Regions from separate parts of the Homo sapiens genome. Here region 2 is linked to region 1. The links are contacts of gene promoters, found by promoter capture Hi-C in human tissues and cell types (Jung and others, 2019). All regions are on one chromosome and are shown on one strand. The core of a region is centred on a gene start or on the middle of the fragment in contact, and the rest is flanking DNA. Distances in the headings are between cores, read along the strand shown.

What was found. Contacts are between HindIII fragments. The study calls those that stand out against the background at their distance.
Region 2: a contact is called between a fragment that was not itself captured here and the fragment with the promoter of NPPB in region 1, in 1 of the 25 tissues and cell types used here (bladder).

Annotation. Positions count from the first base shown.
Region 1 is chr1:11,857,421-11,862,062 of GRCh38, reverse strand. It overlaps NPPB (natriuretic peptide B), which reads left to right and starts at 3,118. Exons shown (of 3, transcript NM_002521.3): 1 at 3,118-3,361; 2 at 3,594-3,849; 3 at 4,392-4,599. The coding sequence starts at 3,230. The coding sequence ends at 4,408. RefSeq lists a silencer at 2,553-2,719. The HindIII fragment of the contact is 5,805 bases long and covers 614-4,642 here.
Region 2 is chr1:11,720,983-11,725,290 of GRCh38, reverse strand. DRAXIN (dorsal inhibitory axon guidance protein) reads right to left here. Exons shown (of 7, transcript NM_198545.4): 7 at 1-4,308. Among named protein-coding and RNA genes, the nearest start is that of AGTRAP, 13 kb to the left of the region's middle. The HindIII fragment of the contact is 8,805 bases long and covers 1-4,308 here.

The DNA.
Region 1 (4,642 bases), core at 1,869-4,368:
AAGGTATTGGCAGGCCCATATTCCTTCTGGAAGCTCTAGGGAAAAATCCATTTCTTTGCCCTTTCCAACTTCTAGAGGCTGATTACATTCCTTGGCTCATGGCCCCTTCCTCTATCTTCAAAGCCAGCAGTGTAGTCTCTTCTCTCCTCTCTGACCTGTTCCCATCCTTACATTTTGTCCCTCTGACCTTGATCCTCTGGCTTCCCTCTTATAAGGACCCTTGTGATGACATTGAGCCTTCCTGAATAATCCAGGAGAATCTCTCCACCTTGAGGTCCTTAACTTAACCACACCTGCAAAGTCCTTTTTACCATGTAAAGTAGTATATTCGCAGATTCTGGGGATTAGAATATGGACATCTTTTGGGGACTATTATTCAGCTTACCACAGACATCATCAAATTTAATCCTTGTACATTAATGCTCCAACAGAGGTGTTATGATTAGCTTCATTAAATAGACTTGGAAAGCACATAGCATATGACAGGCCCTCGATAAATGTTGATGGGGCTGATCTGGTGTGAGAGTTAGTTGACAACATATCCTCCTCCCTGGACAGCAGGCCTTGGAGGATGTGTCTAGTTCTGTGTCTTCCTCAAGTCTTCTTCCACAGTCCCCTCCACTGGGGACAGATAGAAACTCTGTCAGAGTGTATGACACTTAGACACTTAATTGTCTCACTTGGGGTCACTTTGTCTCCCCAGTGAGATCACAATCTCCTTCAGTGTAAAGACCAACTCTCATGTACTACTAATTATTTGGCCCTTTATACAGTGCCACGGGCTTTTGCAGATATTATTTTTTTCCTTTTAGTCCTTGCAAGGACTGTCCATTTTGCCGAAGAGCAAAGTGAGGCTCTGGCGAGATGCAGAGTCAGTTTTTGATGGTGCTGGTTGATGAATCCTGCCTTGCTCTGAACCCTTTATCTCATGGTACTCAGCATGAGGGGCTTTCTGCACCCTCAGCAGCCTCTCGCCCACTGACTCCCCTCTGCACTTGGCTGAATTTTCTTACCTCTTTAGCTTCCTCTTAGCCTTTTGATACTCTTACTGTGGCATGCTCATGTGCACGCACACACACACACACACACACACACACACACACAAAACTACCCCAGCCCCCCAGAACATTTCCAGCACTGGTGTCTTTACACAGCCCTTACCCACCCACCTCCATTTATATTTCATCTGCAAAATGCTCATCTGAGCCACTTCCCATTCTTTCTCCTGCACACACAGTCACCACTAGAATTGCACATCCCCCACAGCACAGCTCCCAGAGCCTTCATAGATGACACGGGATTCACCTAAGCTTGCTTTTTGTAGAAACACCTTGTGATCACCCTGGCAGTGATTATGAGCTTCAGGTCTGGAATCAGACTGCTGGCTAGACTAATCAGACTGGTTAGAATCCAGGATTTATCATGTGTCAATTGTGTGACTTTTGGAAAGTAGATTAATTCATGAACACCATTTCCTCCTCTGAAGTGAGGAATAATAACCGTGCTTTTCTCACCTCAGGGGCAGATGCTATTTTTTAGGCAAGATCTGCTTAGAGGTCCCAGTTTCTTATTGCTGCCCTTCTCTGCTGTAACTCTTCTCCCCTCATAGACAGCTCCACTCCTCCAGCCTGCTGCTTGTTGACACCAATTCTCTGGAAGGGGAGTGACATCAGTCATATATGCTTTAGGGGGGTATTTAAGCTGCTATGACTCTTCTCAGGGGCATTTCTCTCCAAAGTCTCACTTCTAATCACCAGGCCACCTGCTAATGATAATTAGATCATGGGTGGTCAGATGAAGGAGGCACTGGGAGAGGGGAAATCCCCATATCTCTGGTATCCCAGCAAATAGATAACCATCATTCCAGCCATCCTTTTGTTTTCTTTCTTTCTTTCTTTCTTTCTTTCCTTCTTTCTTTCTTTCTTTTTTCGCTCTCTGTCAACCAGGCTGGAGTGCAGTGGCGTGATCTCAGCTCACTGCAACCTCCACCTCCTGGGTTCAAGTGATTCTCCTTCCTCAGCCTCCCGAGTAGCTGGGACTACAGGCGCCTGCCACCATGCCCAGCTAATTTTTGGTAATTTTAGTAGAGACGGGGTTTCACCGTGGTCTCGATCTCCTGACCTCGTGATCCGACCGCCTCGGCCTCTCAAAGTGCTGGGATTACAGGCGTGAACCACCATGCCCAGCCTATCCTTTTGTTTTCCATCCTGTGTTGGCTTGGTGGGGGAGAGGAGGTGTTGACACGTGGAGGACACACATATAAGGCATTCTTGGGTGACTTCGTCATCACTGGACCCTATCTCTCAAAATTCCAGCGAAATCTGCTCTTCCCTTTAAGGAGTGAAAGAAGGGTCAGCATTCCAGAAGTTCCTGGTCATACCCAGGCTTTTAATGAATTGCCACTGGGGAATCAGCATCCCGTTGCTGTAAGGACTATAAGATGGCGGATTGTGAGAGCATAGGGAAAGGTCTCGGAGGTCTCTTGTCCTTGCTCCACGCAGGTCTTTCTGGCCTGAAAATCCCGTTGAAGAGAGCAGCTCTTGAGAGTTTGCTCCAAGTTCCCTCGGGGTGATCAGCACCACGGACAGCGGCCAGGGCGCCCCCGAGGACCCGCAGGCAGGCAGGGTGCACAGCGGCGAGCAGGTGCTGCGCTACGTGCGGGCCAGGGAACTCGCGCGGGGAGGGGAGAGGCGCCGCGGGTGGCGGGGTCTTGGCCGGGGCTGTTTTCGCTGTGAGTCACCCCGTGCTCCCCGCGCTCACGTCGGTCCTCGGAAAGCCGGGGTCCTCCCTGCCTTTTCCAGCAACGGTGGGGTGGGGAGGCAGGAAGAAAGCGCCAACCTAGGACACCTGGACATTTGCAGGAAAGGAAGAAGCGGGAGACGGGGACTTGTCTGTGTCTCCAGCGCGTTCCTGCCCCCCGGCCCGACCCGGCCCATTTCTATACAAGGTCGGCTCTGCCCGGTCTCCACCTCCCACGTCGCAGGCGCGGAGGGGCTCATTCCCGGGCCCTGATCTCAGAGGCCCGGAATGTGGCTGATAAATCAGAGATAACCCTGCATGGCAGGGCAGGCCCGACACTCAGCTCCAGGATAAAAGGCCACGGTGTCCCGAGGAGCCAGGAGGAGCACCCCGCAGGCTGAGGGCAGGTGGGAAGCAAACCCGGACGCATCGCAGCAGCAGCAGCAGCAGCAGAAGCAGCAGCAGCAGCCTCCGCAGTCCCTCCAGAGACATGGATCCCCAGACAGCACCTTCCCGGGCGCTCCTGCTCCTGCTCTTCTTGCATCTGGCTTTCCTGGGAGGTCGTTCCCACCCGCTGGGCAGCCCCGGTTCAGCCTCGGACTTGGAAACGTCCGGGTTACAGGTGAGAGCGGAGGGCAGCTCAGGGGGATTGGACAGCAGCAATGAAAGGGTCCTCACCTGCTGTCCCAAGAGGCCCTCATCTTTCCTTTGGAATTAGTGATAAAGGAATCAGAAAATGGAGAGACTGGGTGCCCTGACCCTGTACCCAAGGCAGTCGGTTCACTTGGGTGCCATGAAGGGCTGGTGAGCCCAGGGGTGGGTCCCTGAGGCTTGGACGCCCCCATTCATTGCAGGAGCAGCGCAACCATTTGCAGGGCAAACTGTCGGAGCTGCAGGTGGAGCAGACATCCCTGGAGCCCCTCCAGGAGAGCCCCCGTCCCACAGGTGTCTGGAAGTCCCGGGAGGTAGCCACCGAGGGCATCCGTGGGCACCGCAAAATGGTCCTCTACACCCTGCGGGCACCACGAAGCCCCAAGATGGTGCAAGGGTCTGGCTGCTTTGGGAGGAAGATGGACCGGATCAGCTCCTCCAGTGGCCTGGGCTGCAAAGGTAAGCACCCCCTGCCACCCCGGCCGCCTTCCCCCATTCCAGTGTGTGACACTGTTAGAGTCACTTTGGGGTTTGTTGTCTCTGGGAACCACACTCTTTGAGAAAAGGTCACCTGGACATCGCTTCCTCTTGTTAACAGCCTTCAGGGCCAAGGGGTGCCTTTGTGGAATTAGTAAATGTGGGCTTATTTCATTACCATGCCCACAATACCTTCTCCCCACCTCCTACTTCTTATCAAAGGGGCAGAATCTCCTTTGGGGGTCTGTTTATCATTTGGCAGCCCCCCAGTGGTGCAGAAAGAGAACCAAACATTTCCTCCTGGTTTCCTCTAAACTGTCTATAGTCTCAAAGGCAGAGAGCAGGATCACCAGAGCAATGATAATCCCCAATTTACAGATGAGGAAACTGAGGCTCAGAGAGTTGCATTAAGCCTCAAACGTCTGATGACTAACAGGGTGGTGGGTGGCACACGATGAGGTAAGCTCAGCCCCTGCCTCCATCTCCCACCCTAACCATCATCACCCTCTCTCTTTCCCTGACAGTGCTGAGGCGGCATTAAGAGGAAGTCCTGGCTGCAGACACCTGCTTCTGATTCCACAAGGGGCTTTTTCCTCAACCCTGTGGCCGCCTTTGAAGTGACTCATTTTTTTAATGTATTTATGTATTTATTTGATTGTTTTATATAAGATGGTTTCTTACCTTTGAGCACAAAATTTCCACGGTGAAATAAAGTCAACATTATAAGCTTTATCTTTTGAAACTGATTTGTCTTGGCGCATTAAAAATAATCCCT
Region 2 (4,308 bases), core at 61-2,560, 130 kb after region 1:
AAGCTGGAGTGCAGTGGTGCGATCATGGCTCACTGCAGCCTCAACCTCTTGGGCTCAAGCGATCCTCCCACCTCAGCCTGGAGAATAGCTGGGACTACAGGTGTGCACCACCATGCCCGGCTAATTTTGTTATTTTTTGCAGAGATGAGGTCTCCCTATGTTGCCTAGGCTAAGATTCTGCATTTCTACCAAGCTCCCAGGTGCTGTTACTGGCCCGGGACCGTAATCTTGAGTGTCTAAGGTCTAGAAAGCCTCTTGCACCCAGAAGTGACCCAGCCATGGATCCTGTATCAGACTGCTTGTTCTGACTTAGAATTCAGAAAATACACTCCCTGCAATATAAACCCCTGGTTCTGCAAACTGCCCTTCCCAGGAAAGGCAACCGTCCCTGCTAACCTCCTCCCCAGGAAACACACACAGTCACCATTGCCTGTCAGAGTGAAGACTATCACAGAGGTGACAGGGCTCAGTCCAACCCCGTGAAACCCCCAGTGAGGAGCCACAGTGGTTTGCTTCTCTGGCCTCTCCACTGTCTCTCCTAGCACCATTTTCCTGGCTGTTCTGTTGTTTTATAAACCGGTTCCTTGCAGGTTTCAGGTATGCTGTCTCTCCAGCTGCAGAGTGAGCCCCACGGCAGGGGCCGTGTGCCCACCACCTCAATGTTAGGTTTTGTTGGGTGGGTTGAATATGGCTTGAAATAAGGACCCACCTCCAGCAGCTCAGTGGTAGAAGGGGTTGTGGCTTTAGGATTTACTTTGTGGCTTGGTCACTCCTCAAGGGGCTGTGAAGCTGTCATTTTCCCACAAGCCTTGGCCCTCATGTCATTGCATGCTCAGCCTATTCCCAGCAGGCATGGAAACCACTCTTGGTGTCTCCAGACAAACTACGGAAAGGCAGCCCTGTGGGAACAGCAGGTATTCCTGGGATCCGCGGTGAGACTCCAGCTGGAGGAGTGCAGGAGGGTTCAGGCCACGGGCCCAGCAGCTACTGGTTGCCACCTGGCCTCCTGCTCAGCTCCCCCACTCCACCCAGGGTATCATTTTAGACTCCAGCACCCATTTTATTGCAAAGCCACTTACTCCTCCAGCCCTGCCTCGGTGCCTGGAATCTGCACATGCTGCCAAGGGCTGAGGCCAGAACAGTTTTCCAAACCTCTCTGACCATGGAACCGTACCCTGACCCTTTCTAATAGAGCATCTCATGGTCCCAGTGTTCTATGGAACACACTTTGGGGAAGGAGCTTGAATGGTGACTTAGAAATGATCTCAGAGTATGTGATGGGTCATTGTCAAAGAACCGACATCTAAAATTCTCCTAGAATAACAAATTAGCTAACACTGGAGGTTTATTAGGTGCTAGGCACTGTTCTAAACACCTTATAAGAATTCTGCGTTCACAGGCCAGGCATGCTGGCTCATGCCTGTAATCCCAGCACTTTGGGAGGCTGAGACGGGGGGATCACCTGAGGTCAGGAGTTTGAGACCAGCCTGGCCAACATGGTGAAACCCCATCTCTACTAAAAATACAAACAGTAACCGGGCGTGGTGATGCTTGCCTATAATCCCAGGTACGCGAGAGGCTGAGGCGGGAGAATCACTTGTACCCAGGAGGCAGAGGTCGCAGTGAGCCGAGATCGTGCCACTGCACTCCAGCCTGGGCAACAAGAGTGAAACTCTGTCTCAAAAGAAAAAAAAAAAAAAAGAAGTATGCATTCACTACTCACAACAACCCTATGAAGGGAGAGTTATTATTCCCATTTTACAGATGAAAAAATCAAGGCACAGAGACCTTAAGAAACTTTCCTAAGGTTGCCAAAGCTGTGAGAGGTGGAATAGGTGGATTTAACACCAGCCACACTGCTACAGATGGAAGGGGAGAGCAGAGACTCTCCGCCCCAGCTGCACCTGAAGTTACCTGGGAGAAAAACTATGAAGCCCAGACCAAACAAAACAGAAGCTTTGTGGGTGGGCCCCAGGCCTGTGAATGTTCCTGGATTATTGCAACGTGCAGCCAGCGTTGAGAGTGAGCAGGCTTGAGCAGGGGTTGGCAAACCGTGACCCTCAGGCCAAATCTGCCCCACTGCCTGGTTTTGCGCAGTTGGCAAGCAAAGAGCAGTTTTTGCACTTTTAAATGGTTTTAGAAAATTAAACTAATAATATTTTATGGCCAGGTGCGGTGGCTCACACCTGTAATCCCAGCATTTTGGGAGGCTGAGGCGGGCGGATCACCTGAGGTCAGAAGTTTGAGACCAGCCTGGCCAACATGGTAAAACCTTATCTCTACTAAAAATACAAAAATTAACCAGGTGTGGTGGCACATGCCTGTAGTCACAGCTACTTGGGAGGCTGAGGCAGGAGAATTGCTTGAACCTGGGATGAAGAGGTTGCAGTGAGCTGAGACTGAGCCACTGCATTCCAGCCTGGGCAGCAGAGCAAAACTCCATCTCCAAAAAAAAAAAAAAGGAAAGAGAGAATAATATTTTGTGACATGTGAAAAGTATACAGAATTCACATGTGTGTCCAGAAATAGTTTTCCTGGAGCATAGCCATGAATTCATTTACACACTCTCTGTGGCTGCTTCGAGCTACGGCAGAGCTGAGTAGCTGGTGGAGATCAGATGGCTTGCAAATCCTAAAATGTTTATTTGGCTCCTCACAGTAAAAGTTTGCTAAACCCTGGATTAGAGGAAACTGGCTTCTGTATGAGCAAAATAAATTTAAGATAGACCTAAGGAAGAACTTCCTGGCAGAGAGGTTGGTTAGACACTTGAGAGGGCTTTGGGATTCCCAGCTCTGGAGTTAAGAGGTTCCATCCACCCATCCCTCTTTGGAAATGTCAAATAGAGATAGCTAGGGCAAAGAGACGGGCCTTGAATTTCCAACCATGGAACTACCCTGGCAACCAGTGGCAGTTCTATGGGCATTTTAGCTTTGTCCTGACCCTCTGTGTTCTCCATGGCTGATGTCCTAGGACCATCTAACAGCTGTCCCCCAGCCATAGTAATGCTGGGCTTTCTTCCGGCGGTACTCCTTAGGGTTCTAGCCCCACAGAGCCAGCACAGTCCCGAGTCACCACTTAATGTGAGGCACACACAGCATGTGTGGGTTGTCTGGTCTCAAGTACGAAGCTGCTGGCAGATCTGCCTTTTTACATTTTTAAGTGTTTTATATTTTTGGAGTCTCACTCTGTCGCCCAGGCTGGAGTGCAATGGCGTGATCTTGGCTCACCGCAACCTCCGCCTCCTGGGTTCAAGTGATTCTCCCGCCTGAGCCTCCTGAGTAGCTGGGATTACAGGCACCTGCCACCATGCCTGGCTAATTTTTGTATTTTTAGTAGAGATGGGGTTTCACCATGTTGGTCAGGCTGTTCTCGAACGCCTTACTTCAAGTGATCTGCCTACCTCGGCCTCCCAGAGTGCTGGGATGTCAGACATGAGCCCTCGTGCCCAGCCTTAATTTTTGTATATTTGGTAGAGACCGGGTTTTGCCATGTTGGCCAGGCTGGTCTCAAACTCCTGACCTGAGGTGGTCCGCCCACCTCAGCCTCCCAAAGTGCTGGGATTACAGGCATGAGCCATTGTGTCTAGCCATATCTGCCTTTCAGCTAGCCTGCTTTGATCTCCCAGTTCCCCTGCCCTCCCTGCTCCCTCCCCACAAGGTTCCCATGCCCATCAAACTTGGATAGGGAGAGAACAAGCATATTTAATTTCTTCTAGATCTGCCTGCTTTCCTTGGTGCCTGACCCCTGACCCCGACTGATTTTTCCAACGCAGTAAACATCTCTGGCATCTTATGGGCGTGATCCAGGCCAGTGAGGAATTTGGCCAGGAAAGTCTTTTGTCATTTGCAACCTGGTTCGCCCTGGAACAGAGGGTTGGCCAGGAGTGAGATGCCAAGTGGGGGGATTTAAATGGTTCTCCTGAAGTGACCCCTGAAGCCAGATCTGCTGGGACAGATGTCCTGGGTGGGCATTGTGAGTCTGGCCTGTTAGGGGCAGTTAGCTTCAGATAGCACCTCAATTTCAGGTGAGCCTCAACTTCCCAGTGGGCTCTGCTGCAAAAATGTGGGGTGGGGTTCCAGGGATGGTTTTGTGGTCCTGGAAATCACTAAACAGTATGCAAAGTGGGTAAACATGGGCAATATGTGTGGGGTTTTTTTGGATTCCATGCTTGCATCAGAACCCCTGGGGGGGAAGTGCTCCAGAAAACTGTAAAGTGCCTGTCCAGGACTGGATGATCAGGACCACAGGGACATAAAGGCCAACATGATTCTTTTCCCCAAACACTTCTTATCCCAGGATATCAGCTAC